Regions from separate parts of the Homo sapiens genome. Here regions 1, 3 and 4 are each linked to region 2. Evidence: promoter capture Hi-C in human tissues and cell types (Jung and others, 2019). All regions are on one chromosome and are shown on one strand. Each heading gives the region's core, a stretch centred on a gene start or on the middle of the fragment in contact. The rest is flanking DNA. Distances are from core to core; before and after follow the strand shown.

Region 1 (5,350 bases), core at 289-2,788, 160 kb after region 2:
GCTCCATGCCCACCGAGTCACAGCCATGAGCTCCACAGGGACAGGGAGTCCGTTCATCCAGGATCTGGAACCCTAAGAACCTTGTGGCCTGAGTGACATTCCCCCAGGCCAGCACGGCACCTGCCCAGCACCTCCTAGCACCGCCAGCACCACTCACGGCGGGATACGACTTCCCTTCACCAACCCCACCCTGTCCACTCGTTATCCTAGGACGTGCGGCCCCTACTCACCCCTGGGCCCCTCTGTGCCCAGGGCCCACAATGCTAGAGAGACCTTCGGGGGGGGGGGGGCATCACCTTATTGGCTGAAGGAAAAGGTGTACCAGGGTCTCACCCTCAAATCCAGTGGACTGAGATCCGATCTCAGGTGACAGAGAGTCTTATTCTGAATCAGATGGAAACAGAACCCTATGCAGGTAGAAGATAAAATGTGGATGCAAAACCTAGAGGCTGCAGTTAGAAATCAAGTGAGGTCAACCACAGGCAAGCATAGAACACAAATTAGAGTGTCCAGACTCTCTCCTGGCCATTACAGCCACCGCCTGGCTGCTGCTGTGCCAGGGGTTCACCCAGAGCCTTTTCCCATTAGGAGCGAGATAACGGCCCCCTGCCCCGGCTGCTGCGGGTCTAGATGTGGCCACCCGCCTTGTCTCGCCTCCGGTGGTTGGAGAGGAGCAGGGGTGGACAGTGTCAGGGATGCCAGCACAGCCTTGGCCTGGAAGCCAGTGGACTTCTTGATCCTTCATCTGGAAAAAGACAGGCTGATTAACCACTGTGTTTTAATAGTTTTTGTTATTATTATTATTTTGAGATAGAGTTGAGCTCTGCTGCCCAGGCTGGAGTGCGGTGGTACAATTTCCGCTCACTCCAACCTCTGCCTCCCCAGGTTCAAGTGATTCTCCTGCCTCAGCTTCCTGAGTAGCTGGGATTACAGGTACCTGTCACCACGCCTGGCTAATTTTTGTATTTTTAGTAGAGATGGGGTTTCACCATATTGGTCAGGCTGGTCTCAAACTCCTGACCTCAGGTGATCCACCCACCTCTGCCTCCCACGCCACGATTACAGGCATGAGTCACTGTGCCTGGCCAGATTTTATTATGATTTAAGTGGAAGAGGCCAGCAGATCGGGAGACGACTGCCATTGAGAAGAGTTTGTTACAGTCACTGCTTCCAGGAGAAGGAGGCAAGCAGCACCCTGTAGGGCACGCAGGGAAGGCCGGGTCGGCCGGGAGGGAGACGGGCTATGGCAGGAGCCTCTATCTACCAGCCTTTATGGCCGTTTCCGGGGCAGGGAAGGCAGGCTTAGGATTGACTGGTTTGAATAATTCTGGCAGGCCCTGTGGCACTGGGGCTGTCTCTAGCTGTCTGGCACCTGCCCCAGTGTGATCAGCTCAGACAGATAGTGGCCCGGAGGGTGACCCAATAAGCAGGCGGTCAGGATGTGGGCTGAAGAAGGGGACCTGGCCACCTCTAGCCAGGACCTCCAAACTGGGTCAAGACAGCATTTTCCAAACCACATTCTATGCTGCTCCAGAGGAATCAGAAGACGCTATTCATTCACTCCTTGGAGGGAATGTGTGTGTATATGTGTAATGCCCATGTACAAAAGTAAGTAATGCACACATTTTATATTTTACAGAATGTATTTTACATCTTATGGTGTATGTCTGCAACATTTTATATCTTGCCAAGAGAAGGTATGAATGTTTGCTACTTTCTAATTCCTCTTTTTGAGATCAAAGAAATCTCCACTCTTAGTGCACAGAGAAGAAAGAATCTGTTGCCAGATGCCATCTTGGACATCTACTTATGCTTAAAAAGGAATCAGTCCCTTTGCTCCATGAAGACAGCGGCCAGGTTGAATACGCGAGCTTCGTCCACTGTCCTACCATGCAGGGAGCGTCTTCACTTCTCAAACTCTCCCCACTTGCGCTTCTCACCCATCAAGCCATCAACACCCCTGGGCCCCAGGAGCCTCTCCCTCTTATATCTCCAGATCAAGCAAGGTTCAGACACCTGGACTTCCCAGAGCTCCCAGGAGGTCAGGCTGTTGTGTTCACATGACTTCCCTGCAGGCTCAGGGTGAGAGAACTTCAGAGAAGAGACACCAGCTCCGACTCCTCAGATGTGACCTTCCTGGAGGCACCTGGTGCCAGCCCCCCTTCCACTGGGTAGGCCCCTGTCCTGGAGTAGAAGCCTCTCCAGCTCCCTTCCACTGGGTAGGCCCCTGTCCTGGAGTAGAAGCCTCTCCTTCTGCACCACCAGGGTCCCTGTAGCCTTGGGGTTAAGCTTCCAAGAGCACAGCCAGGCAGAGGAAGGGGCTCTCTTTCCCTGGGCTGAGGCTTCCGCCCCACTCCACGCTTTCTGTCCCTGGAGCCTCTGCCCGTTCCTCAGTGCCTGACATTAGCCCTGTCCTTTCAGGGAAGAATTATGCTCCCTAATAACAGCCCCAACAGAACAGAAGCTCATTTGTCCATTAGAAAAGAGACATGATTATTACATGTTACATGCCTGTATCAAAATATCTCATGTACCCACAAACATTAAACATGAAAAAGAAAAAAGGAAAAGAGACACAGGCAGAATTTGAAGAACTGTTTTCTCAAAAATTGAGAAATATGCGAACTAGGGTCAAGAACCGAGCCCCTCTCCATTTCCTTGGTAATGACCCCTCTGACAGAAGCCACGAGGCACAGGCAGCATTTCAGGTCTCCAGTCCCATTCTGTGTAGCTGTATTGGAGGCCGTGACCTGGGTCCATTTCATAGGCATTGACTGAGCACCAACAGTGTACACGGTGCTTGCTCCAAGTGCAGACAGGGCAGCCACGGTCCCAAGGGCGCGCATTGTGGGAGAAGAAACATCAGGGACAGCACAGCCCAGATCTGGGATCCATGGGGATTCGCAGGTCATTAGGAAAATGTGGGAACCCAGACACTGAGCTTGAGGAAAGCAAGAAAAGAGCTGGGGAGGCTTCAGAGGGAAGTAACATGAGAGCTAAGTCTCAAAGTTAAGTACAATGTTGCCCTGGGAGCAGGATCAAAACTGGAAATCTCATTGCAGATTTTTATGATTCTGATTTTAGGGAATATCTTCCATTTCAATCAGCTCAACATGGCCACAAAGAGATCATAAAGTGTGCAGCAGCGTCGGTGCCTGGAAGTGCTCCAGGTGCGTAGCGGCCAGGCACTGCCTGCTCCCAACTGATTATGAGGTGGTAGATTTGGAATCTTTAAAATTTAAACCACTGCTTCCCATCCCAAATAAGAATGTGGACTATGGGCCTGGCACGGTGGCTCATGTCTGTAATCCCAACGCTGTGGGAGGCCAAGGCAGGTGGTTCACCTGAGGTCAGGAGTTTGAGACCAGCCTGGCCAACACAGCAAAACCACATCTCTACTAAAAATACAGAAATTAGCCAGGTGTGGCGGCACGTGCCTGTAATCCCAGCTACTCTGGAGGCTGAGGCAGGAGAACCACCTGAACCTGGGAGGTGGTGGTTGCAGTGAGCCAAGATCACACCACTGCACTCCAGCTTGGGTGACAAGACTGAGACTCTGTCTCAAAAACAAACAAACAAACAAAAAATAATACAAATAAAAAATAAAATAAAAGGTTTTTAGAATGTGGACGGTGAAGCAATTGCATTTTTCTTCGTAAGTCTCAGGAGAGTCAGGGGCTGGCTTGATACTCCAGCTTGGGTGACAAGACTGAGACTGTCTCAAAAACAAACAAAAAATAAAAAGGTTTTTAGAATGTGGACTGTGAAGCAACTGCATTTTTCTTTGTAAGTCTCAGGAGAGTCAGAGGCTGGCTTGATACTCCAGCTTGGGTGACAAGACTGAGACTCTGTCTCAAAAACAAACAAACAAAAAATAATACAAATAAAAAATTAAGGTTTTTAGAATGTGGACTGTGAAGCAATTGCATTTTTCTTCGTAAGTCTCAGGAGAGTCAGAGGCTGGCTTGATGCTCATGACACGCATCCACCATCTTCCTGGCCCACCGGTGACTTCACGTGCCTAAGCCACCATCAGTGCAGCTATGAGGCTGAGTTCCAGCCAACAGTCTCTGAACCACGGAACGGAGTAGGGTCTGTCTTCCACCCCAAAAACCAACATACAGCACTGCGAAGTAAGGACAAATAAAACTTGTGTCACGTGAAGCCACTGAAGTGTCAGAGCTGTGAGCAGAGCTCTGACCCTGCCTTCACTGGCACACAGGCGTGAGAGGGCAGCTTGAGAGAGAAAGTGACAGTCACTGAGGGTGGAGGGGGCGGGGACGCGGAAGGGGGCGGGGACGCAGAAGGGGGCGGGGACGCGGAAGGGGGCGGGGACGCGGAAGGGGGCGGGGACGCGGAAGGGGGCGGGGACGCAGAAGGGGGCGGGGACGTGGGGCCACACTCCAAACACGTGCTCCTCCCGCCTTGCTAGTCCACTGTTTAAGTCTGGCGAGCTAGAACACAGACGGACAGGGACAGAGGCTGGGTTCTAACCTGAGCCACAGAAGCCACATCCCCTGCCGGGAACTCTCTGTGAACATACGAAGGTACATGGACTGCTTATTTGTCATGTCACGATGGGCTTCACAAGAAAAATGCTTTAAAAGGCAGGAAGCTTCTTGGAGCCCAGCGGCACCGCATTACCAAGATACGATCAGGTTTCCAATGGAACCAAGGCCGGTAAGAGTGGACACCGCCCACCCAGCAGCTGCGAGCGGCTGACCTGCAACGTGTCCTGTCCCTGGGCTTTGTCACTGTATTCAACCACGCAGTCCTGCTCTCGGGTCTGCATAAGTGCGAAGGCTATTAAACAGCAGAGTATCTAAACTGCTCCTGCAGGTGAACGCATGTGGCACGCCTGTGAGTTGGGCTGGCAGAGAAAAGATGCTAAAATACTGATGGAGGAAGTGGGGGGCAGTGGTGGCCACATTGCTCCTGACTTCCGGCAGCACCAGCGGCAGCCAATTAGCCATGGGGTGCCATGGGTGGCCTCCAGGGCCTGCCGGGAGGTGCTGAGCCGGCGCTGGGCTGGAGCGGGCTCTGCGGGCTTCTGGCAGGAAAATGATGGAAGGCCGTGGCCTGGATTTTGCTGCCACACAGATACATGCGGGTGGCATCATTGCCAAATGCACAGAAAGCACAGCCAGGTGAAAACAAGGTGAAATTCCCGCAGAAACCTTCAAACGCAGGGCTGGGAAAGCCTGTGGTCTCCTGGTTGTTGCATAAAAGATTCTCTTTTTTGAAACAACAGTCTTTTGTAGATTTCCCCCACGGCATCCTGTTCTTATGATATTTTACGATGCACTTTGGGTTAGTTGGAGCCTCTGCTAGGTTTTTACCACATGCTTCC
Region 2 (5,401 bases), core at 2,424-4,923:
TGAACTTTTTTGTAATCACTTTAACGAATGAGTGGTTTAAGCAAAATTATCAAAATGACTTCCCAAATTACACGTCAATTGTCAGATCAGCATTATACTTAAAGCTATTCTCGAATGCAGGCTGAATTCGGTTCTCATTAAACTTATAGCATAGGCTCACTTTTGGACGGACAGTCCATACTCCAGGACAAGGAAGGGTGTTGAGAAAGCGAGGGGAAACCTAAGGCTGCTGAAATAAACGTATTTCCATCTGGGCTTCAAGTGTTTTTTTTTTCCAAAAATATAATTTCATCTTAACGTTGTGATTAATTTTTAAATGTATTTGCTACAGTATAATTTTTAAATGCAATATTTAATGCTGTCAGATTACTTGAAGACAAAGTTTTACAGAAATTTTTAAATTTCAAAAAAAAAACTGCAATGTACCAATAAACACCTAGAAAATAATATAATTAAAAAATTTAAAGCATCAAACAACCTCAAGATCTCGTCAGGAATAATGAACAAGGCATTTTGCGTTCACATCGGTTAGCAACTTGCATCCCAGTTCACGCGGGGGAGGGTGATGGTCGATATTTCTGTGTGTGTGAGAATCCAGCACAATTATTTTGCCCGTTTTCCCAAGAGAAAGAAGCCAGGGGGAGGGGCAGAGGATGGACGGAGGGGGCTCGGCTGCAGTACGTTTTGGTTCAGCGATTGTGTTTCCTTGAAACACATTTAGATAAATTCTGCTCGAAATCTTAATTGCTGGGGAATTGGGAAACCCGTGACCTGCCCTGGTCTTTGTCCTTCATCCATGGCCTGGTCCAGGGTCCCACCACTGGGGTCTTCCCTTCCTCCTCCCTCCTCTGGACCAAACTGTGGCGCAGACCCCCAGCCAGGTGGAAGGCGCCCCGCTTGCAGCAAGGTAACGCGCAGCAGCCCCAGCCGTCCGCAGTGAAACAGCCGGAGCAGAAGATACTTTTATTTCTCGGCCCGTATTAACACTCAGCTCTACAAAATAACCTATAGGTTTTAACTTCCTTCTCTTTCATTGAAAAAGGTTCCTTGAAAAATCCTGTCCTCCCATTCCCCGGGGTTCCCTTACTTTTAGTTCATACAGATAATTTCCCTGTCAGATTTCCTCATTGCATTTTGAACTCATAAAACATGCACATAAAAATAGCATGTTACAAATTTATGGAGAAAATGGGCTCTGTCTCTTAAATTTGTTGACTCGAAACATTTTGGGTGGGGGGTCTTTTTTCGTTTTTAGAAGAAAGGCTTTTTAGAAAACTATGTACATAATCTGACTTCTCCTCCCCGCATTGCAACGCCGAAAATAAAATTTTTCACAATGCATTTACAAGAAATAATACAAAACCCAAAAAAAAAAATGGAAATGCTCAGATACATAAAGTTTTACAAAACCCAGAATATAACTCCGCCGTCTGAAGGAGGGGGTGGTGGTGGTAATCTCTTTGTATAAATTAACAAACCAACCCAAAAGAGCGGTAACAACTACAAAAAACTTGTAAGTGCTTGGACCTGCCTTACTACATTTATAACAAATGCGACGAGCTCCGCGTCACTTGGGCTCCGGCGGTCGGCGCCGTCCGGAAGCAACGCGGAGGAAAGTGAGCGCGCCGGCCGGTATACAAAAGTGGGCTTCGCCTCTCGCCTCGTTTTGACTTTTTTGTCCCCTCGAGCAAAGAAAACGCTTTCCGCTTCCTCCGTAGGTGATAAATACTGTACAAAAAGTCTCAAGAAAACACCGAAGTTCAGTCTAAAACCCAAGTCTGGTGTCAGCGCCCGGCGGTCGCCAGGGTCTCCGGGGAAGGTGAGTGGGGGACACGCGTCACCCGGCGTTCGTCTCCAGTATTTTCCTTTTGACAAGAATGTGGGAACGTCTGTACAAAAGCCACGCCGCGCCGGGGCGGGGCGGGAGCCGGGCGCGGGCCGCGAGCTCGTGGGTCGCCGCCGCAGAGTCCCCGGCGTCCCGAAGGCGCTAGATGTGCGTCAGGGGCACCGTGCCGTTCACGCCCGCGCCCGCGCCCTGGTAGTGCTGCGGCAGCGAGTGCAGCCGGCTCTGCGCCGCGGCCGCTGCTGCCGCCGCCGGGTCGCCCCCCTCGCCGGCGGGCAAGTACATGCTGATCATCTCGCGCAGGTCCCCGGGGCACGGCGCCCGCGAGTGCGCTGGGGCGGGCGGGCTGCCGCTGGGCTCCGACTTCACCAGAGAGCCCAGCGCGCCCAGGGCGCCCGACGACGCGGCCGCCGCCGCCGCCGCCGCCGCCACGGCCGAGTTCTGGTGCGCGCCGCCCGCAGCGGCGGCGGCGGCGGCCGCGGCGCCGTAGGGGAGGCCGCCGTAGCCCGAGGGCGACGCGCTCATGTAGCCCTGCGAGTTGGAGATGGGGCTGTACTGCAGCGCGCCCATGTCGTAGCGGTGCATGGGCTGCGGGTTGTGCGGGTGCGCGTGCGGGTGGTGCGGGTGCGGGTGCGCGGGGTGCGCGTGCGGGTGCGCGCCGCCCGCGCCCGGGTGCTGCCCGTAGGCCAGCTGCGCCTCCTGCATCATGGCCGCGGCCGCCGCCGCCGCCGCCACCGAGCCGGGGTAGGCGCCGTTGGCCCAGCCGTTGACGTGCGCGTAGCCGCCGCCCGCCGCGCCGCCTGGGCTCTCCAGGCGCTGGCCCACGGCCGCCGCGCCCACGCCCACGCCCACGCCCATGGCCACAGCCGCGCCGCCGCCACCCGCGCCGGCCGCCAGGAGCCCGCCGGCCAGCGAGTACTTGTCCTTCTTGAGCAGCGTCTTGGTCTTGCGGCGCGGCCGGTACTTGTAATCCGGGTGCTCCTTCATGTGCAGCGCGCGCAGCCGCTTGGCCTCGTCGATGAACGGCCGCTTCTCGGCCTCGGACATGACCTTCCACTCGGCCCCCAGGCGCTTGCTGATCTCCGAGTTGTGCATCTTGGGGTTCTCCTGGGCCATCTTGCGCCGCTGCCCGCGGGACCACACCATGAAGGCGTTCATGGGCCGTTTGACCCGGTCCTGGTTGGCCTTGGCGCCCCCGCCGCCGCCGCCGCCCCCGCCTCCGCCCCCGCCGCCGCCCGCCCCGGCGGGGCCCGAGAGGTTCGTGGGGGCCTGGGCGCCGCCGGGCGAGTGCAGGTCGGTCTCCATCATCATGCTGTACATCGGGGCGGCTGGCGGGTTCACCGGCACCGCGAGGAGAGGGCCTGGAGCATAGACGGCCGGGGTGGGAGGGAGACGGAGAGGAATTCAGACGGAGTGAGACGGGGGCGGGGGGGTCCTAGCGGAGAGAAGAATGGGGAGGGGTGGAGGCAACGACAACAAAAAAAGGCAGAAACACACGCACTCGGCGCCGGTTCGGCTCGCAGGTGGAAAGTTTCTCCTGATGCACAAACCACTTGCCAAAGAGGCCGACGGTCGGGGTCGCCGTCTTCGCCGCCACCGCAGCCCAGGCGCCCTCGGCGGAGCGGTGCAAACAGGTGCAGTCGTGGCCAAGTTGCAGCTCCGCTTTTGGGGCCGGGAGCGGTGCGCTGGGCCCGGCCCGGGGTGTGCTGTCTCCTCGCCGGCCGCCGCTGCGCGCTGTCTCCTTCCTCCTGCGCTCGGTCCTCAGCGGCCTCCAACTCGGAGGCTGCAACTTCTAGCAGGGCGGCGCGCCGCGTGCGCTGGGCATGTGCTGGTCCCAGGTGCCCGGGGGAAGCCAGGCGCCAGTGGCGGGGGGGGGGAGGCGCAGGGGGGCCTGCAGGGGGCGATTACGGTGCAGCCAGGGAGGGGCCCGGGGACAGCGGGAGGAGCGCGGGCTCGCGGAGAGGGCCGGAGAGCCGGGGCCGCCGAGCCCGGGATGGGCTGCCCGCTGCCTGCCCGGGGCCGTGCGCTCGGAGCGGAGGCGCACGCGGGGCCGGCGGCGCGCGGGGCCCAGCAGCCATACGCCGGGCCCGGGCTGCCATTAAATGAGCGCGCCGCGGCCAATGGGAGCCGGCGGCGGCGGTGATTTGCATGGCGCGCTGGCGAGTGACGTGGGGAGGGAGTAGATACACTGGGCGCGGGCGGCGGAGCGGGGAGGAGGGGAGGAAGGAGGGGGAGCAAAGCAGGAAGGAGGGGGGAGGAGGCCCGGGAGGGGGTGACAGCCACACCGCTTCCTGAGCGCGCGCGCGCGGCGGCGGCGGCGGCGGCGAACCCCGAGCTCGCCCTCCTCGCCGCTCCCCGCCCGCGCGTTCCGAATGATTAACGATTGGGTTGAAAAGCGAAGACTAAGAAAGGATCGTCGTGGGGTGGGGGGAGGAAACGCAGCCCCTGGCCAGGTTTAAACGGGCGCAGTGGAGACCCAGCTCCTCCTCTGCCCCCGCCGGCCAACTCTGTGCCTGCAGGGAAGGGGAAAGTTGAGTGCGGGGCTGGCACGTCGCCCTCAGTTCCCCCGAGTGCTGAAAAGGAGGGGCGCTCCCTTGGACGCAGGGGATACCCTCCGAGGGCCCCTGCAGGTTCTCTGCAAGGATCAGGCGGCTCAGCCATCCCCCGCCCTGCATCCGTTCTCGGCCGCGGCGTGCACTGAAGTTCGCCAGTGCCCGCTCTTGCAGCGAAGGCCTTCACAGTCCAGGCCCCACAATTCGGGTAAAGGGGGAGTATTTGTGTGGGCATGGCTCCATAGCTTCGTTTAGTATCAGCCCTAAACTTTTGTGGGGAGGAGTCTTTCAATGAGCCCGGGGCCATAGTCACGCACTCTTCCCAACCCGGATCTTCTTCCTCTGGAAAAGGAATTTCTAGGAAGGCCGAACACAACAAGATCTATCTGGAATCTAGTTCCTGAACAACAGTTGAAAAAGTTTGTTGAATCGCAAAATAATGATATGGCGCACGCTTTTCTGGAGTGAATTTCCCACGAGCTGGTTGCCTAAGAACGGAGAAAACTGCGTGAACTGCGCGGGGCCACATAAACCGAATGAAAGGCGGGGCCTCAGGACGGGTCTCAGCCGCCGGTCTGCGTCATGCAAAGGAAAGGCCTGGCTCGTGGAAAGAGTAAGGCATTCACCTGTGGTTATCATTCTTAAACCTCAAAGTGGCTTTGATTTGGGAACGTGAAAGAGATTTTCAAACGCAGTCTCAAGTAGCATAGCGCTCACACTACCGTTTCCACCAGACTGATCTGAAAGTGGTCCAAAGACGACTTTTGAGCCCAAGTATTCCTCCTCTGCCCTCCCCGAGGCACCCTGAGATGAGAGTGCTTGTGGAGATTGGTGGTGGGTAAAGTAGAACCTTCACCGCATGTCACATGTCTGCCTGTCTTGTAGTAGGAATATTCAGTAAAGATGATGATAACGGTAATAGGAGTAATAGGATGTTTGAGTCTGTTGGGCAGCGAACACGTGACACCTTTTTTTTCCTCTTAAAAAAACTTCTGAGGTTGTGAAT
Region 3 (5,744 bases), core at 584-3,083, 150 kb before region 2:
TCTTTTAATGCCATTATAAAAGGGATGGATTCTGAGTCAGGTGAAACTTGCCTCCTGGAACTGTAGCGGGAAAAGAGAGGAAAGAGGAAGACAATAGGATTTCTTGTGACTTTCAACAAAAATCTCACTAAACACAAGAGAGGCGAAAGGAGATGGGAAAGACTTGCTTCTAAGCAAGTTTTCTTTTCCTTACCTAGAGACCAAATTCATGATGTTTTTAGTTGTCCTGGGGATTGCTTTCAGCTGTGCTTTGTTTAAGACGGACACTGTTCCTGTCTCAGGTGAGGTCACTTTAATTAGAACAGCGCTGACCTCGGGACTGGATTTGACTAGCTACTCAAACACAGTGCCTTTTATTGTTTTAGAGATATTCAGAGATGAAAGAAGTAATTGGCTGTCGGGTCTGGATCCTACTTGAATCACGCTTTAGTAGGATGCAGAGAAGTTGCAGCTAATTCTTTCTTTTTGTCTTTCTTTCTTTCTTTCTTTCTTTCTTTCTTTCTTTCTTTCTTTCTTTCTTTTTCTTTCTCTCTCTCTCTCTTTCTTTCTTTCTTCTCTTTCCCTCTCTCCCTCCCTCCCTTCCTTCCTTCCTCTCCTCTCCTCTCTCTTTTTTCTTTCTATCATCCTTTATCCTTCTTATTTTTAACTTTTCCAGTTTGGGTGACAGTTTCTCTTTCAAGTCATACAAAAGACTTTCCACATTTTCTTATTCTGGCTCCATGTGGCCACTCTCTGAGCAGTCGTCCTTGGGAACATGAAGTGAACTTGGTGCCTCTCGGGAAAGGACTTTCTCCTGCTCCGCTGTCTGTGAAGATGATGGAGGTGCCAGGGCCTGGCTGGCAACATCCATGTCCCATGAGGCGTTTGCTCCAGAACGAGCACTTTGCTTCTCTTTGGCAACTAGTTCAATTAACAGAGGGTTCTGTAAATTTTAAACGGAGAAACAGGGACCCAGCAGGGTGAAAAGGAATCCACTTTTGGTGGGAGAAGACAGTGCTGCTATGGGGTTGCCCTGAATGGGTTGAGGGGTTTGCCCACACCACTGGCAGAGGAGGGCCTCTGAACTTTGTGTTGTTCTGCTGCCAAGAGAAGGAAACTGGTGAAGAAGATCTGCGATTTTACAAAATGATAGGTTATTGTTCTTTGTTATTTATGTTCTATTTAGTAAGTTGTTTTATATGCTGTTCTATAGATTCAGGCAGTTTTCAATGCCTAAAATGGCTCTATCCCACCCCTGAAATATATATTTTGCATATGATTTCATTTTTTATTCTCAAAGTTCAAATTCTACATGTTTTGGTCAAACGTGGAGACGTGAATTTGACTTGTGGCGTTGACTATTGAGAAATAGTCAACTAAGTGACTGGAAATAGCAATTTTTAACCACTTCGTGGAGGCTGTGTGAATGTCACCCTAATCAGATGAAGCGCTGACTGACAAGATTTATGACAGTCACAAAAAAGTCCTGGCATCTCAGCTTTCCACAGTGTGCGGACCACGGTGGTTACCGTGGTAATTAGTATTTTCCAGAAAAATTCATCAATTTTCCTCATATTGTCAGGGAGCCCCAGATACCCATGCATATGTGCAAACACACACTAACATGCACGTGCATGCATAGCAACACACCTGCACCACACGTGCACACATGCAAACACACAAACACATATATGCATGCATAGCAACACACACATGCACACACACTTGCACACGTGCAGACACAAACACATGCATACCAACACACATGCACCCACACGTGCACACATGCAAACACACACAAACACACATGTGCATGCATATCAACACACATGCACACACATGCACACATTCAGACACAAACAAGTGCATGAATACCAACACACACATGCACCCACATGTGCACACATGCAAACACGCACTTGCACGCATATCAGCACATGTGTGTACACATGTGTGCACACCTGCAAACACACGTGTGCAAGACACCCTGATAGGAAACCCTCTATGACCTGCCGGGGTCTCCAGCTCAGCTTTCCCTCTTGGAGCAGGTCGGGAGCAGCACACTCACTCACACTTGCTGGAGTGGAGAAACTGCAGCTGCATGCACCAGGTCATTCTTTGCTAATATCTTTATTTTCCAGAGAAATGAAAATGATGCATTACACTTAGTATCTATTCTCTGAGAATTCGCAGATACTGAACATGCCAGTTTGCTCTGACAGCAGTCTAATCTCATGAATAGTCTCCGTGTTGTTAGTGAAGACACGAAAGGAAAATCACTGGGGATCAGTCTTTTCTCAGGGCTAAGCTCCGTGCACGGGCCAATGACCAGAGAAAGAAGGGGCACCTCCAGTTTGTCAGTTCTTCTCCTATTTGCCCTCCATTTCTAATGTCAAACTCACCCCGTCACTTTCTGACACCTCTCACCATGTCAGAAGTAGAGAGAGAATTGGCCGGACTTGTTTCTTAGTAGAAAGTGCAGGATTTGGGGTGCTCATACATGTTTATGAATCATTTTTATTTGCTAACAGCATATAATTTTGACAGAATCACTTGGATGAACAATTAGCTTCAGGAGGCGAAGCTCTGACAAGGGCCCATAGGTCAATGGTTGGTCGTGCACCCTCATTGTGGGTATTTTCAATGCTCTCCCTGCTCTGTGGCCTCGCCCCTCCTCTTCCCCGTCTAATGCCTGGGGACTTGAGGGAGCTCAAAAGTGACATAAGCATGAGTAACTTTCTTTATGTACTTTTCTGTATTTTTCCCAATATTTTAAAGGATATCCATTACTTTTCTCTCCCAGTAATTTTAATGTAAAAAAATAACACAATTAAAAAAACCCAGATTTTTCTCCTACAATCGTTTGTCTCTCCTGCCACTGTGGACCAGACGCTCTCAGTGCGGCCAGCGAGGCCGTGGGTTCAGCAGGAACTTCCCTGCTTGCATTTTCTCTTTCCAGAAATGTCTCCTGCTCCTTTCACGCCATGTGTTTTCTCAGCCCGTTGCCTCGGCTTGTACCATCCTCTTCCACCTGGAATCCTGTCCTCCACCTGACCAACTCTGCAGAGACTTCAGGACCCAGCTGAGAACGGTTCCTCCAGGTCCTGGGGTCCTCCACTCCCTCATCCCCCGGCCCACAATCCCCTGGGCACCCACACTGGGACGCTGATTCCATCTCGAAGGCACTGTGGTGTCAGCTGTGAAGGCTTGCATTCCCTGACACCCGGGAAGGGGCCTCGTTCTCCCCCAGCAGGGCCCTAGAAATAAGCGGATTCATCACCTTAGCCTCAGCGTGAGCTTCGAAGCACACGCTCTGAACAGAACCTCCTGGACACAATGCGTGGGGGAGGCCCATCGCCCGGCCAAGGCGTCCTTGAGACCCCAGGAGGGAGTCAGATTCCTGCTCCGAAGGGCCTGCAGGCCCTGGAGCACCCGGACCTCGGCTCCTGACAGCAAGCAGTGGATGTACCCGTGCAGGGGATCCGCTGCCATTCCAAGGATCCCGCTGGCGTGCCACTCGGTTTTTCTCTGCAGATAACCTGGAAACTGGGAGATTTGTACAGATTTGAATGTTGACTTCATCAGCCCCGCCTCTCAAAAACTGCATGTACTTGAAATAAGAGTGAAAAACAATGGCATTGGAAGCCAGACTCCAGAAATCAACCAGAACGGACCTGTTAATGGGTTCTGGTGGCGGTGGAGATGAGAACATGCCTTTTTTTCTTTGAACATTGCAATAGGAGAAATGACACATGGGTAAGGAGCTCTTTTTCTCCCGCTCCTGAAAGGAACAAGGCCCACCTGACACTGGTCACTGGTGTTTCCCTATTCACAAAACGGGGATGGAAAAATCAGCCCCACCAGAGAAGAGCTAGGGTGCCTTGAGACTCCACAGTCAGACACCCAGCAAGGTACAGAGAAGGCAGGAGAGGAGCACAGCTCAGTGCTTCCTGCTCAGCCCTCTCCATCTCCCTCCCCACTCCAGCCCTCACCATCTCCCTCCCTGCCCCCCTTCAGCTCTCTCCATTTTCCTCCTCTCCAACCCTGACCATCTCCCTCCCTCCTCCCTTCCAGCCCTCCCCATCTCCCTCCCCACTCCAGCCCTCACCATCTCCCTTCTCCCCTCCAGCCCTCCCCATCTCCCTCCCTCCTCCAGTCCCCCCCACTTCCCTCCTCTCCAGCCCTGACCATCTCCCTCCCTCCCCCCTTCAGCCCTCTCCATCTCCCTCCTCTCCAGCCCTGACCATCTCCCTCCCTCCCCCCTTCAGCCCTCTCCATCTCCCTCCTCTCCAGCCCTGACCATCTCCCTCCCTCCCCCCTTCAGCCCTCTCCATCTCCCTCCTCTCCAGCCCTGACCATCTCCCTCCCTCCCCCCTTCAGCCCTCTCCATCTCCCTCCTCTCCAGCCCTGACCATCTCCCTCCCTCCCCCCTTCAGCCCTCTCCATCTCCCTCCTCTCCAGCCCTGACCATCTCCCTTCGCCCCTCCAGCCCTCACCATAACCCACCTCTCCTCCAGCCCTCCCCATCTCCCTCCTCCCCTCCAGGCCTCCCCATCTCCCTCCTCTCTTCATCTCTTCCCATGTCCCTCCTCCCCTCCAGCCCTCACCATCTCTCTCCCCGCCCCCAGTTCTCACCATCTCCCTCCTCCCCTCCAGGTCTCCCCATCTCCCTCCTCCCTTCCAGCCCTCACCATCTCCCTCCTCCCCTCCAGCTCTCACCATCTCTCTCCCTCCTCCAGCCCTCACCATCTCTCTCCCTCCTCCAGCCCTCACCATCCCCCTCCTCCCCTCCAGCCCTCACCATCCCCCTCCTCCCCTCCAGCCTTCGCCTTTCCCTTCCTTCCTCTCCTTCAGGATCTGCTGGAACACTGGGCAGGCCAAAAGACAGCTGTATGTAATGGAGAGGTAAGTGTGTATCTCAGGTATCTGAAACCCCCATTGGTAATTGAGTGAAACAGTTCCTTTGAGCTCTGTGCACAGTGCCCTTGGTCCTGTTTCTGGGCTCTCTGATGGCCTCCTACAGGCCTCAGCTCTGCAGAACTTGATTTTATCTTTTACTTTATTTGTGCAGCTGACTCAGGAACAATGCAATTAAGTTAAACTCTGTGGACATTGGAGAATCTTCTGCACAGAGGGGTTTAAACGGAGTGCTGGTGAAGGTGAGGACTGGGGTTATATGTCTACATGTTTGGATCAGGTGTGTATTTGGGGAAGGAGCTCAGACCACAGGTGCCTGAGTCAGCCCACCAGGGCTAAGTCCCAGCTCTGCCACTGAGTCCGTGAGCCCATGGGCCCATCTCCCTGTGGAGCTAAGGAAGGCACACCTGTGCCCATCTTTTCATGGGAGCTCAGAAATACCCCGCGGAAGTGCGGAGGTTGCATCCAGAATGTGACAGTGTGGGCGCACGCAGGGCATGAGCCTGGACCCCACCTCGCCCTCGTCTGCACGGGGAAAGGAGGCATGGAGAAAGCAATGGCAGGGCCTGCGAGGAGAGCCTGATGGAACCCAGCCCCGCCATCGCAGTGGCCCTGAAGCCCCTGGCTGGCTGTGGCCAGGCAAGGAAGGCAGGAGCGGCGGTCTTTCGTCCTGCTCTGTGGTCTTTGGGGCCGAATGCAGTCTGTGGCACATGTGGGGCGAGGCAATGGATGATGTGCCATGAGGGAGGCTCCGTCTAGGACATTCCCATCAGACACAGTGGGTGGTGGCAGCCGCAGGGCCCGGCAGGACTGAGGTCATTGTTGGCAGGTGCCCCACACCTGCAGGG
Region 4 (5,568 bases), core at 236-2,735, 190 kb after region 2:
CTTATTGAACCCATTAAAGACTAATTTACTGGCTATAAAATTATGGCATTAGGAATTTACGGATCATTACCTTTTATTCTGGAATGAAATATTGCTGACTGAAACTCTTAGAAACTGTTGAAAACAATTACTCATTAAAGCCACATGAAATTAAATGATATGGCTTAGCAAAGGGGAAGAAAAGAACCCAAGCAAAGTTTGAAAATGTTTTTTTGAGGAGAAGCACTAACTTTGCACGACACTGAATGGATAAAGATTATATTTTCAAACAGGATTAAGATCTACAATTAAAGAATATGAACTAAGTAATTTTAATGTGCAATGAAATCTTCTTTTTGGGAAAACGTATTAGATCATGACTGATAAAAATTCCGATCATGATTAATCACTGCTAGGTATTTTGGAACACTATTAAAGAGAGTTTAACAATGTTAAAATTAATTAACTAATTCCTCTAAAAGGGTTTAAAATATAATACGATGCAACAGCTGTTGCAGCTTTAAATATGATTATTTCCTTTCCGCCCTGAAACCAAAATTTGCCAGTCAGAAATCAACCTCATTTTATTGCAATTTCCAATTTATTGCTTGGTAATGAGATCAACTTAATCGTGATGAATGCCTTGTTTTCTAAGCGACCATATGCACAAGAGCACATCCCAAAGTATGTGGGATGTGGGATGTCCCCTCCTCCATCTGCCTGCGGGAGCAGCCCTGGGTAACAAGCCCACAGAGCTCAGGGGCCCCGCTCCATCTGCCTACAGGAGCAGTCCTGGGTGGCAGGTACACGGAGCTCAGGGGCTCTGCTCCATCTGCCCGTGGGAGCAGTCCTGGGTAACAGGCAGGCACAGGGAGCTCAGGGGTCCTGCTCAATCTGCCTGTGGGAGCAGACCTGGGTGGCAGGTGCACAGAGCTCAGGGGCCCTGCTCCAGCTGACTGCGGGAACAGCCCTGGGTAGCAGAAGCACAGAGCTCAGGGGCTCTGGTGGGAAGAGGACATGCACACACAGGCTGCTCTAATTTTTGGATTTTGGTTCTAGAGAGTGATTGAGCAAAATGAGCCCGAATTTCTGTCAGAAAAACATTGAGCTTAGAATACATTTTTATAACAATAAAACATAGAATTGCAAAACTTGAGAGCTAGAAAAGATCAAGTCCAAACTTGTTTTGAAAATAAAGGAACCAAGGCCTGGAGAAGTCAAGCAACTGGCCCAGGGTTATGCAGTCGCCAAGGTTATGCAGAATTAAACCCCGTGTCTCCTGAGTCCCCCGGCAGGGTTTCTGCAGCAAGCACTGTTTCCAGGTGGCCCTCTGGAGGGGCTATTTGCTTATACAGAGTGGACGTGAGCTTTCCCTATGGCAGACAGACCACGGGTCATCAGGTAAGCACAGAGTTACCTCTGAGACACTCCTAAAAGAGAAAACATTACCAAACAAAACTCCAGGTCTCTCCAGAGAGTCTTTGGATGCCATGTACCTGCTGTGCTGGGTTCTCCTCCTGCTACTTATATTAAACAACAGCAACATTTTTATTCAGGCAAGAAAGTGAAATGGTTTCCTCAGCACAGAGGGGCAAAAAGAATCCCTCGCCCCCTGCAAGCACCATTATATTACGGTCGCCATACAAGCTCTATGGGGGCTTCCAGGGAGCTGCTGTGTTCCATGCTTGCTGAACCAGAGAGGCCTGCTTCAGGTTGACTTTAATTCTTTCCAAGAGGCAGAAAACTGCCAGTGTCGCAATAAACATACATGTTCATGTGTCTTTATAGCAGCATGATTTATAATCCTTGGGGTATATACCCCGTAATGGGATGGCTGGGTCAAATGGTATTTCTAGTTCTAGATCCTTGAGGAATCACCACACTGCAAAGACTTGGAACCAACCCAAATGCCCATCAATGATAGACTGAATTAAGAAAATGTGGCACATATATACCATGGAATACTATGCAGCCATAAAAAAGGATGAGTTCATGTCCTTTGTAGGGACATGGATGAAGCTGGAAACCATCATTCTCAGCAAACTATCACAAGGACAGAAAACCAAACACCACATGTTTTCACTCATAGGTGTGAATTGAACATTGAGAACACTTGGACACAGGAAGGGGAACATCACACACTGGGGTCTGTCATGGGGTGGGGGTAGCGGGGAGGGATAGCATTAGGAGAAATACCTAATGTAAATGATGAGTTAATGGGTGCAGCACACCAACATGGCACATGTATACAGATGTAACAAACCTGCAAGTTGTGCACGTGTACCCTAGAACTTAAAATATAATAAAAAAAGGAAAAAATAAAATAAAATGAAAATAAAAAAATAAAAAAGAAAAAAAAGAAAATTGCCAGCGTCTCAGGGGATTGCTTTCTCTGGGGCTTCCAGACCATCTTATAATGTGTTAAAATTGCCAGTTTGCCTGCTCCTGACTGCACCCCAGAGAATCTGTAAGACCAGCACCATCAGTCAACAGGATAATACCAAAGAAAGTCACAAATTTCAATGCACCAACTTTAGGTCCTTACCAATTGGCTTTAAATATGCTTGGACTTGAGGCACCAAACACAAAACGAACATTCAAGTCACCTCATATGAACAGATGTGCAGAGGAGCTGCTCGTATTCTTTGCTCCTGCATTCCCTACTACATAAATAAGAGTGGGTTGTAAGCCATCTACAATTCTTAATGCCTCAGTGCTAACTTGACAACAAAGCAGCAAGTTTCTTCTAGAGAGGGAGCCATTTATTTTCACTTGGTTTTAATTTTTCCGAAACCTAATTATAATTATGAATACACATTCTTGCCTTGAAGCTTATATTCTAATTGCTGAACTAAATAGTTGACAAATAATAAAAACAACCCAGTAAATAAAAGACTAATACATTCACTGTTGTTCTGAGAAGAATGATTGGTGCACACGTAATATATATTATAATATTCTTACAGACCAATTTCTACGCGGAGGATCATTAACTGTATTTTCTATAAAACCAAGATTCTGATTCTGTATCCGTCCTGTTCCTGGGGCAGCCTTCAGCAAGTTCATACCTGGGAGCTGATGGACATGAAGAAAATGTACATCAAACGCGCTTCTCCACGTTGGAAGGGCCACTCAGCCTCTAATCGTCCAACCGACAGGCAGGCAGGAGCGACATTCTCCAGATGGGAGACTACAGTGAGTCGGCTTGCTAGCTAAGTTGCAGCAACTCAAGTTGGGGGGTTCTTTTTCTTCCCTTTTTTACTCTCCATAAAAAAAATGACGGTATGTCCCAACACTTGTAATGGGCATATCCTAAGAGTGTCCCTCCCCAAATTCTCAAACAACACTGTATTCCCAATAACATGCAATAAATGATACATTTCAAAAATTGAAATAGCTCATTCAGACTTTAAATGTATAAACATGGGATCAAAATTGTTCACGAAGCTGTTGTCTGGTAGAGAGTTCCTTTCCTAGATCACTTCTGTCACCAACACAAGCAGGTGGCATGCTTTGAAGACCCCCCTCATGAAGGGGCACAGCATTCATCAGTTCACCTGGGTCAACAGAGCTGCTACAGATGGGGTGGGGGTGGCTGGGGGGATGGTTTATGCACTGAGGCCTCATCTCTGCTCTCACCAGCCATGCGGTACAGGAAGTTCACCGCCACGCCCTGATGAAAGGAAAAGTTGGATCCTGCAGTAGCTTCCCAGTATTCAGAACTGTGTGCTTGCCTCTAAGGAGGACCTTCCTTCCAAATAGAAGCTTCTCCCTGGCAAGTTTGTCTGGTTCATTCCCTGGAGACCCTGGTGTGAAGTAAGTCCCAAAGATGTACGTCTATAAGCAAATTGTAGCTACCCTGGGTGCTGTTGCTTCTTGCCTACCTGCCCCACCTTCGGAAGATATTTTCATCCACCCCTAGAATTTTGCACTTCTCCTAATACACTGTGCTTACTTCATGTCTTAGAAACAGAAACATCCCCGGATTCCTCTTTCCTTCACCAAACCCCCATTCCATAGTGACTTCCAAAGGGCTGGAGCAAAAGTTTTCAGGAATGAGGAAAACATCCAAAGAACAAGTTAGTGGGTAAAACACCAGAGATCAATGTAGCATGCAGGACCCATGATGGATAAGGATGCGGTAAGGTTTTAGAGAAAACTTCTTCATCTTACAAATGTTTTTCCCTCTTTTCTTAACCCTGTTGCATTGTCCTTAATTCTAGCAGAGTTTAATCACCTTTGATGCTTTTGCCCAGAAAGATATTTACCGGCATTCATCTCTGTCACCGATCTTTGAGCAATTAGTCACTGTACGATTAAGGTAAATCCTATCTAGTTCTTTCTATTCCTACCCATAAGCCATAAATCAAGTAGTCCTATACCCTCTTAATCATTCCCTTCCCTTTTCCCTGCAACTCCTCCCCTTCTCCTGCCTCTTTCTAACTCGGTGGCTTTTCTTAAGAAATTACAAAGACCTGGAGCTAAAACCACCCAGGTTCCTGAGCTCCCAACAGCCCCGCTGGGACAGAAGGAGCCGTGGCTCACCCAGGTACCCTCGCCTGGGCTCTCAATAGCTGCCAGCAGTCTTGCATGGGAGACACAAATAGAGACTTCCATGCCCTCTGAGCCTTCACACTCATGGTTGCCAGAGGTAGCAAGTAAAAATACAGGATGCCTGTGCACAATGTGGGTCACACTTATACTAGAAAAGCCTTCATTGCTTATCCAAAATTCAAATTCCATTGGGCGTCCTTTATGTCATGCAGCAGCCCATGAACTCACCCCACTGCCCTCTGTGTGCACCGCAGTGTCCTCTGGAGGCTGCCAGGGGAGCCTCCTTCCCATGCAGCGGCACTCACTGGAGCCACTTTCAGGGGGACAGTGCTGCTCTTCCTAGAGGTCCATGCCCTGCACAGACCAGTGCCCACCTTATCAGGCTCTTCTTATAGTTTTTCTCCTTCCAGGGCATTGAAATGTCACCATCCTCCTCAGCATCATCGATTTGTCACATGCCTTGCATCAAGGAGGACTCTGTTGATGCTGCCACTGTCCAAGCAGGAATGCCACACGAGAAGGAGGAGGATTCATTGCGGTCTGATGAACAGCTTCCCTGTACTGGGCAGTGAGGTTGCCGGGTGGACAGGGCGGCCTCCTGTGCACGTGGATGTCACTTCCTGGTGCATGTGGCCAGCATTCACCCATCTCACTCTGTTCTCATTTGGTAACATGGTCTGCCGTGTCTGAAACTCTGTCTAGCAGTACTTGGGTTTCCCAAGCTCAAAAGCAGGAAGGCATCTGTCCCTAATAACAGAATGGTAAGTGGGTCTCTCTGTTGCTGTTACTTCTAAAATTTGGAGCAATGTTGCATTGCTCAATTTGTATTACATTATGTCGTCACATACAATGGATTTTTAACTACACATTTTCCCTTGCATCAGGGCTCAGCTGAGTAGCTTTGGAATGCATAAAGTAAAGAGAGGAGTGTTTGGGGGAGGAAGAGACCCAGCATTCTGTTAGGGTCTTCAGGACACTGCGGGCAGGACCAGGCTCAGGCCAGACAGTCACTTGGGTGCAAAATGGCATTGAGAG

The links. Contacts are between HindIII fragments. The study calls those that stand out against the background at their distance.
Region 1: a fragment that was not itself captured here is called in contact with the fragment with the promoter of SOX1 in region 2 in 2 of the 25 tissues and cell types used here (dorsolateral prefrontal cortex and mesendoderm cells).
Region 3: a contact is called between a fragment that was not itself captured here and the fragment with the promoter of SOX1 in region 2, in 3 of the 25 tissues and cell types used here (H1 embryonic stem cells, mesendoderm cells and neural progenitor cells).
Region 4: a fragment that was not itself captured here is called in contact with the fragment with the promoter of SOX1 in region 2 in 8 of the 25 tissues and cell types used here (H1 embryonic stem cells, dorsolateral prefrontal cortex, heart left ventricle and 5 more).

What each region holds. Positions count from the first base shown.
Region 1 is chr13:111,904,455-111,909,804 of GRCh38, reverse strand. No RefSeq gene overlaps it. Among named protein-coding and RNA genes, the nearest start is that of LINC00354, 14 kb to the right of the region's middle. The HindIII fragment of the contact is 3,829 bases long and covers 1-3,452 here.
Region 2 is chr13:112,065,421-112,070,821 of GRCh38, reverse strand. It overlaps SOX1 (SRY-box transcription factor 1), which reads right to left and starts at 3,673. Exons shown (of 1, transcript NM_005986.3): 1 at 1-3,673. The coding sequence starts at 3,163. The coding sequence ends at 1,988. All of the region lies in intron 1 of SOX1-OT (SOX1 overlapping transcript), which reads right to left. The HindIII fragment of the contact is 28,986 bases long and covers 1-5,401 here.
Region 3 is chr13:112,213,676-112,219,419 of GRCh38, reverse strand. No RefSeq gene overlaps it. Among named protein-coding and RNA genes, the nearest start is that of LINC01070, 19 kb to the right of the region's middle. The HindIII fragment of the contact is 8,103 bases long and covers 1-5,744 here.
Region 4 is chr13:111,875,640-111,881,207 of GRCh38, reverse strand. No RefSeq gene overlaps it. Among named protein-coding and RNA genes, the nearest start is that of LINC00354, 15 kb to the left of the region's middle. The HindIII fragment of the contact is 8,074 bases long and covers 1-5,522 here.